Linked DNA regions of Homo sapiens: region 2 is linked to region 1. The links are contacts of gene promoters, found by promoter capture Hi-C in human tissues and cell types (Jung and others, 2019). All regions are on one chromosome and are shown on one strand. The core of a region is centred on a gene start or on the middle of the fragment in contact, and the rest is flanking DNA. Distances in the headings are between cores, read along the strand shown. Region 1 holds the start of DLEC1 (DLEC1 cilia and flagella associated protein). Region 2 overlaps ACVR2B (activin A receptor type 2B).

Region 1 (4,132 bases), core at 809-3,308:
CTGTGACTGTCTCTGAGGCTGTCTAGAGGCAGGGTGGAGAAGCCAAAAGTAATGGCAAGAGTCCATTGTCCTGTCCTTCCCTATAACAGGGAAGGGGGCCAGAGAGCCTCCACAAGCGGAACTGCTCCTAAATGACAAGACCACCCAACTGGGGCTCCATTTGCCACATTAGAGCAATGGAGGCCCCCAGACTGTTGCACCCCTCTTCCTACCCACAGCTCCTTCCTGCACCACTGGGGGCCTTGCATGCTTGTGGAAAATTGGAGAAATGCCTGTTTGCCAAAGCTCCCTCCACTTCCCTCCTCCTCCCCCCACCATAGCTACCCTTTTAAGTCAGCCCTGGGAGGATAAACTTAAAGAAGAGGCCTGCATAGGCCCTGGAATGAACTCAGGACATGTGGGCACATACTTTTGGGGTCCCATGTGCCTGGAGGCGAGGCACGGGGCACATCATCTTGGCCCTGTGATCTCTTACTCTGTGGGAAAGAGTGCGGGGGACAGCCAGAGATGGGCCTCTCAAGCACACAGTCCAGGGCAGGCGGCCCTGGCTTCTCAGCTCTCAGGACAGAAAAGGTCCTGGAAAGGACAAAAGAGAGAGCCAGGCCCAACCAAGAGAAGTAGAAGTGGAAGTAGCCCAGGTGTGTGGGCAAGCATGCTAGCACTCATCTCTGGAAGTGGGTTTCAGGATGTAAGGCAAGCAAACTCAGTGTGGAGTAGAAAGTGGTTGGTTGTATCACCTGTGAGCAAAAGCCATGGTGTGCAAATGACAACAGTCAATGTGATGTTATGCTGCTGCCCTGGACAAATGCAGTCCTCTTTTCCATCTCAGTGATGCTGTCATCACCCCCCTGATTGCACACACAGGATACCTGGGAGTCATTCTTGGTGCCTGTTTCTTACCTCCCATTATCCACCAGCAAGTCTTATCAATTCTACTTTTTGGATCTATCTCCAATCCAGTTCCCTCTCTCTCATCCAATCTCCCTTCATCTCTTTCCTAACTTCTGTGCTAGTTTCCTAACTGAACTTCCTGATGCCTCTTGCCTCTCCTGTCTATTCTCATAGCAATCAGAATGATCTTAGTAAAACAGAGCTGACCATGACATGCCCCAGCTTAAGACCCTTGATGAACCTCCTACTGCCCTCAAAATAAAGTCCAAATTCCCTATTGTGGCCTACCAACCCACTTATGATCTGGCCCTAACCTATCAGTGTCATTCCTCCACCCTCACACTCTTTAAGTTCCACTCCTCCTGAATTTCATTCCGTCCTTCCCACATTTTTAAATATTTTGTAAAGATGGGGTCTCCCTATGTTGCCCAGGCTGGTCTCAAACTCCTGGCTTCAAGTGATCCTCGTGCCTCAGCCTCCCAAAGTGTTGGGATTACAGGTGTGAGCCACCACACACACGCTCTTATTTAGGTACTTTTTTGTTTTTTGTCATTCTACTAACTGTAGTACTGCATTGTGGTTTTAATTTCCACTTCTTTGATGACTAATGATGTTCAGTCTACTCCTTCTTTGAAATCTCTGCTTGGTTTTCATTTGTTCCAAGAAGTAATCGCTCCTTCTACAGACTAAGTTCCTGTCCTCCTTTGTAGTTCCATGACAACCAATATTTATCTCCACCTTGGCCTTAACCCACTAAAGTACAGTTGTTTTACTTTTACCTCCACACCCACCGCCATCATCACAAACACACACATACACGACTGTGCACTTCCTGAAGGCAGAAGCAGCATCATACTTCTTTGGTATCTTCAGCAATCAGCACAGACCTGAAACACAATCTTTACACAATAAATATGATGAGTGAATGAACAGTTGCTTAACAAATTAAAGAATGGATGAAGGTAGGTAGTTAGGTACAAGGTTTTGCAGATAGGCCTGGCTGTGTCAATTAAACCTTTCTTCATGGGTCCTCACACTTAGTAAGCTCACTTTTAAAAGGACAATGCTGAAGACACAAATGTTTACAATGACCACAGCGATGACGGGATCCGAGAGAAAGGCAAGGCGGAAGGGGTGAGGCCGGAAGCCGAAGTGCCGCAGGGAGTTAGCGGCGTCTCGGTTGCCATGGAGACCAGGAGCTCCAAAACGCGGAGGTCTTTAGCGTCCCGGACCAACGAGTGCCAGGGGACAATGTGGGCGCCAACTTCGCCACCAGCCGGGTCCAGCAGCCCCAGCCAGCCCACCTGGAAGTCCTCCTTGTATTCCTCCCTCGCCTACTCTGAGGCCTTCCACTACAGCTTCGCAGCCCGGCCCCGCCGCCTCACGCAGCTTGCGCTGGCGCAGCGTCCCGAGCCTCAGCTGCTTCGTCTGCGCCCCTCCTCGCTGCGCACCCAAGATATCTCGCACTTGCTCACCGGCGTCTTCCGCAACTTGTACTCAGCCGAGGTCATCGGCGACGAAGTGAGCGCAAGCTTGATCAAGGCCCGCGGCAGCGAGAATGAGCGCCACGAGGAGTTCGTGGACCAGCTGCAGCAGGTAACGTGGCGGTGGCGTCGCGTCTGCGGACGGTGCCGGGGTCTCAGCGCTCGGCACGCGTCAGCACCTGCCAGGTGCCAGGCGCTGTTCCAGGATCTGGGGCTGCAGTTGAGAAACAGCCCATCATGCCGAAGTGGGCCCGACATTCTAGTGGAAGGACGCTCTATCCATACACACACATGCGCAAATACCACACATACCACACAACGTGCGGCATATATCTGTAGCACCTGTCTATATTTCTCTAGACACATACGTTATATATTGCATATATCAATGAACGACTGCGGCAGACCGCTGAATAGTTGTTCCATGGAGAGGATAAAGCCAAAAGTCACCCGGCTTTGGGGTGCCTTTGTATCACAAACCACAATCTTGACTGGGCCATTCATGCGCAGATTTTAGGAAGCGTGTCTAGCCTCTAGAACAGCAACTCTGCTTCCTCATCTGTACAAGGAGAAAACCAGCTGACTCGCGGCCTCTGTGCTGAGTCGGCCTCTGCTGGCCACACTACTGAAGACTCCCTTAAACTTGTGGGCACTCCTCCCATACCCGATCCTTTACCCCGGTGTGCTTCCTGCCTCTCAGATCTTCTTCTTCTCCTTTCTGTTCTGTCCTCTACCTGCCCCTTAAGTGACATGCATCCCACGTCGTTAGCTTCAGTCATTCCTTCACTTAACACATTTGTTGAATGTCTGCTGGGTGTCATACTCTGTTCTAGGCAGTGGGGATTCAGCAGTGAATAAAAACGCCAGTGTTCGGGCACACCCACACTCACACACGCAACCTGTCCTCTGTAGCTTTCAACCTAACTGAGGTAGATAGACATTAACAAAATGAATACCTATACAGTATGTGAGATACTTACAGGACCAGTCTCGCCGCCTCCACGGGTTATAGGCTTCTTAAAGTGCAGCCAGAGCCCCTGGCTGGGATCCTGTACTCTGTGATTCGTGGGTCACCACATTCACTCTGCTAAGACTTCAGCCTACCCAGCCAGACCTTGCCCTTGAACTTCAGACTCACATCCCTGTCATTCACATGAGCCAGAATATATGGAGCATTATAAACCTATAAACCCCATGACCAGTCACCCAGTTCACTGGATTCTATCTTCTCAGTATCTGTCCCATAAGTAGCCACTATACCAGAGTCTGAATTGGCAAATAGTGATCCCTTTTTTTGAAGAAAAAAAGTAATACATATTACAAATTTTTTTTTTTGACAGAGTCTGGCTCTGTTGCCCAGGCTGGAGTGCAGTGATGTGATCACAGCTCACTGCAGCCTTAACATCAGGGGCTCAACTGATCCTCCCTCCTCAGCATCTGGAGTAGCTAGGACCACAGGTGTGCACCAGTATGCCCAGCTTATTTATTTATTTATTTATTTATTTGAGATGGAGTCTCACTCTGTCACCCAGGCTGGAGTGCATGGCGCAATCTCAGCTCACTGCAAGCTCCACCTCCCACATTCATGCCATTCTCCTGCCTCAGCCTTCTGAGTAGCTGGCGCCTGCCACCACACCTGGCTAATTTTTTTGTATTTTTAGTAGAGACAGGGTTTCACTGTGTTAGCCAGGATGGTCTCGATCTCCTGACCTCGTGATCTGCCCACCTTGGCCTCCCAAAGTGTTGGGATTACAGGC
Region 2 (4,132 bases), core at 730-3,229, 440 kb after region 1:
AACCAGAGCGGCCTGGAGCGCTGCGAAGGCGAGCAGGACAAGCGGCTGCACTGCTACGCCTCCTGGCGCAACAGCTCTGGCACCATCGAGCTCGTGAAGAAGGGCTGCTGGCTAGATGACTTCAACTGCTACGATAGGTACCCCAAGACTTGCCCTCCTTTCCTCTTGGACCCACCTGCGCTTATACTGCCCACTGGGCCATTTGGGTCTCAGGATGTCTGAGTGGGAGATAAAGGACCAAGAAGGGGCTCTTGAGATGGTAGCCATGGCCCCACGCCCTTCCACACCCTATTTGTCCTACCTTAGCCCTGAGGAGGGGTCTCAGTGTCAACCCCTGGCTGTTCTTCCTTGGCTTTGGGTCTCCTGTAGGGGAGGTGAGTTCACACCGTCCCCCTGGTGTTGCCCATGAGGTGCTCTGTCTGTGAGGAGGGGTTGGCAGGGCAGGCCTGGGGGAGTCTTGCATCCCCCAGGTGAGGGGTATATGGAAAATTCTGTGCCTCCAGGCAGGAGTGTGTGGCCACTGAGGAGAACCCCCAGGTGTACTTCTGCTGCTGTGAAGGCAACTTCTGCAACGAACGCTTCACTCATTTGCCAGAGGCTGGGGGCCCGGAAGGTAAGGGGGCAGTGTGGAAGTGGGGCCTTGAGTCAGCCGACCTGGGCTTCTTTGGCTTGGAGCGCTTGGCTCCTCAGTTGGGTGGGGTGTGGCTACAGGGCCCTGTAGTCTGGCTCTGGAAGTGTGAGGGTGGGCAGACTGTTTGACACAGGGCTCTGTGTGTCCCCCAGTCACGTACGAGCCACCCCCGACAGCCCCCACCCTGCTCACGGTGCTGGCCTACTCACTGCTGCCCATCGGGGGCCTTTCCCTCATCGTCCTGCTGGCCTTTTGGATGTACCGGCATCGCAAGCCCCCCTACGGTCATGTGGACATCCATGAGGTGAGACAGTGCTGGCTTGGGGCAGGGCAGGATAGAGGTGGGGAGGACAGGCCAGACCTTTTTAAGCCTTGCTCTCCCCCAGGACCCTGGGCCTCCACCACCATCCCCTCTGGTGGGCCTGAAGCCACTGCAGCTGCTGGAGATCAAGGCTCGGGGGCGCTTTGGCTGTGTCTGGAAGGCCCAGCTCATGAATGACTTTGTAGCTGTCAAGATCTTCCCACTCCAGGTGAGTGTTTGAGGGGCTCCATCCAGGTCCTCTGCCTCCACTGTAGCTTGAACTGGAGGCTCTCCTGACCTGGGGCAATCCAAACCCCAAATAATATTGTGGTATGAGAGAAAAGTGAGCCTTACTGGGCCTAGTTACTCATGTTACACTTGGCTGGTCTGTAGATTTCATGCAACTATGGAATTTTATCATAGGACTAGGGTAGGGCTTTGCAAAACCTTGATTTGCCCCGGTTACCAGGGTTTTGTTTTTGACATTGGGTTCTTTCCAGCGGCCCTGGACACCAGGTCTGGCTCTGCCTCATTTGTTGGGTGATACGGGGTCACTCACACCCCATGCATGGACCTTAGTGGCCCCATTTGTAAATCGAAGTGCTAGCCTTAAGTGATCTCAGGGATCACTGTTGGCCTCATGCTCTGGGGCCTAGCTTAATACAGGTCTTCTCCTGGTCCCCTTACAAATGCTGAAGCTGGGAGGCTGGGGGGTGGGGATTGGGCTGGGAGGCTTGAGGGTGGGGAATGGGGAATGGTTGTTCTGCTGTAGGGCAATGTGACTGCAGCAGGGCTAAGCCAGCCACTTGTCCCCCCAACCCCTCGCCCCCGGCCTCAGGACAAGCAGTCGTGGCAGAGTGAACGGGAGATCTTCAGCACACCTGGCATGAAGCACGAGAACCTGCTACAGTTCATTGCTGCCGAGAAGCGAGGCTCCAACCTCGAAGTAGAGCTGTGGCTCATCACGGCCTTCCATGACAAGGTGAGCCACACCCATCAGAATGGACTCTGAGAGGAGATGGAATGTCCCCTTGGTGGCTCTCCATAATATGATGACCCCTTCCCTGTGGAGGTGTCCACCATGAAGTACTCTGCCCCGGTAGCACTATCCACTATGGGGTTACTCCTGCCATAGGTGTGGACATTGGTTCCCCTATGATAGGAACCTCTCACCCTGGGATAAGTTTTTATGATAAGAGTAGTGACTCCATGATTCCCACCCCTAGCCCTCCCTGCCTCCTGGCCTCATCCATCTTCCATATCGATTGTAGTAGCCTTCCAGGAGAGCAGCCTAGCCATTGGCCCACTGAGACTTCTCTGCCAGGGCTGGGCTGGGTCCTGTCCTGTACCCAGAATCTGTGCTCAAGTTCTGTGCTGTCTTCTCTCAGGGCTCCCTCACGGATTACCTCAAGGGGAACATCATCACATGGAACGAACTGTGTCATGTAGCAGAGACGATGTCACGAGGCCTCTCATACCTGCATGAGGATGTGCCCTGGTGCCGTGGCGAGGGCCACAAGCCGTCTATTGCCCACAGGTACCTGGGTCAGCAGGTGCCTTTCCTGCACTTGACCTGGAGCTGTGGGAAGGGTTGGTGGGCGAGAGCAGTGTCTGGAGATGTCTCAACTTCCTAAACATACTTACCCTGCTTGCTGTGTGTCCGAGGCAGCTGGGCACAAAACCTGGCCTTCCCACTGTGTCCTGGGGATGGCATGGCCTCCCAAGCTGGTTTTTGGTGCCCTCTAATGGCCACATGAAGTGCTGACTCCATTACTTTGGTTGGAGAGTTGGCTCAGTAGTTCTCAAATTTTCTAGTTTAGGATCCCTTTATACTCTTAAAATGACTTTTGTGTAAGTGGATTATGACTATTGATATTTGCTGTATTTGAGCACACCCACACATCCCATTCGCTGTCAGAGTGAGGACATCACATCTCATGTAGCCTCGGGAAAACTCTATGCTCCTAAGAGAATGAGCCTTATAAAAGCAAATAAATGAAAATAATTTTGACTTTATAGATTCCCTTGGAACAGTCTTAGAGATCTTCTGGGGTCCTCGAACCACCCTTTAAGAAACTCTGGATGAGCTCATCACTGTCATGCTTACTAAATGGCAGGCAGTGCTCTAAACACTTGAGAAGTATCAATTCATTTGACCTTCATTACCGCCCATTGAGACAAGTACTGTATTTCTCAGCTCTGTCTTGCAGATGGAGGAACAGTAGTACAGAGAAGTTGAATGACTTAGCCAAGGTCTTGTAGCTAGTTGAGTCTGGTTCTGTGACTGTGAGGGAGGGGAATGAACCTCAAATTCCAGCGTTCAAAGCTGAAGGGTCCCTGATGGTAATAACAGTAATGACATAGAAGGTAGACTGTATGAAATTGCCGTTTTTATAGGTCAAAAGGTTGAATGTTGTCTCTGCTATATGGCTCAACTTAATAGGAATACCTAGTAAGTATGCCAGGTGTGGCCCTAAACATTTGCACTTACCACTCAGTCGAATCCTCACAAGGCTGAGACAGGCACTGGGGAAACTGAGTACCACAAGTAGCTTTGCTTAGTTAGAGGTGGAGCTGGGTGCATGCAATAGCACCCTTGCTCCAGCCGGCCTTCATGGTGAGCTTGAGACCCTAAGGGGTCTCTGCAGGATCCTAGGAAAGCTAATATTAAATTCCTATTCTCATTCACATTCCAAATGCTGTAAATTCTTCTCAGAAAACTTGCATCCCAGGCCAGTGTGCCTGTCCACAACCCCTCTGAGAATATATGGGCTGGCCTTTGATAGTGTGGGGACTGGGACAGGGTCTGCCCAGCCATTAGGGTAGGTGTTGCTTTGCCAACCCTGGGGGAAGCCTTCCATCTGAAGTGCACTGAGGGATTCTCACACCCATGTCGGCGCCTGCAGCTGCCTGCTTGTGCTGCTTCACCTCTGCACCCCAGGTAGGGTGGGATGGCCTGGTCTGGGGCCTGACTCTAGGGCACAGACTCTAGTATCTTGGGAACCAAGGTGGGAGTTGGATCATGATGTTAAGCTTTATCTCTGCCCACTTGTTTCCACAGGGACTTTAAAAGTAAGAATGTATTGCTGAAGAGCGACCTCACAGCCGTGCTGGCTGACTTTGGCTTGGCTGTTCGATTTGAGCCAGGGAAACCTCCAGGGGACACCCACGGACAGGTAACAGGCCTCACAGGGCAGGAA

The links. Contacts are between HindIII fragments. The study calls those that stand out against the background at their distance.
Region 2: a contact is called between a fragment that was not itself captured here and the fragment with the promoter of DLEC1 in region 1, in 1 of the 25 tissues and cell types used here (lymphoblastoid cells).

What each region holds. Positions count from the first base shown.
Region 1 is chr3:38,037,150-38,041,281 of GRCh38, forward strand. DLEC1 (DLEC1 cilia and flagella associated protein) reads left to right here and starts at 2,059. Exons shown (of 37, transcript NM_007335.4): 1 at 2,059-2,487. The coding sequence starts at 2,077. RefSeq lists enhancers at 2,124-2,333, 2,624-2,853. The HindIII fragment of the contact is 10,609 bases long and covers 571-4,132 here.
Region 2 is chr3:38,477,358-38,481,489 of GRCh38, forward strand. ACVR2B (activin A receptor type 2B) reads left to right here. Exons shown (of 11, transcript NM_001106.4): 2 at 1-137; 3 at 504-613; 4 at 784-935; 5 at 1,018-1,161; 6 at 1,771-1,914; 7 at 2,321-2,469; 8 at 3,994-4,108. Among named protein-coding and RNA genes, the nearest start is that of EXOG, 17 kb to the right of the region's middle. The HindIII fragment of the contact is 5,726 bases long and covers 1-4,132 here.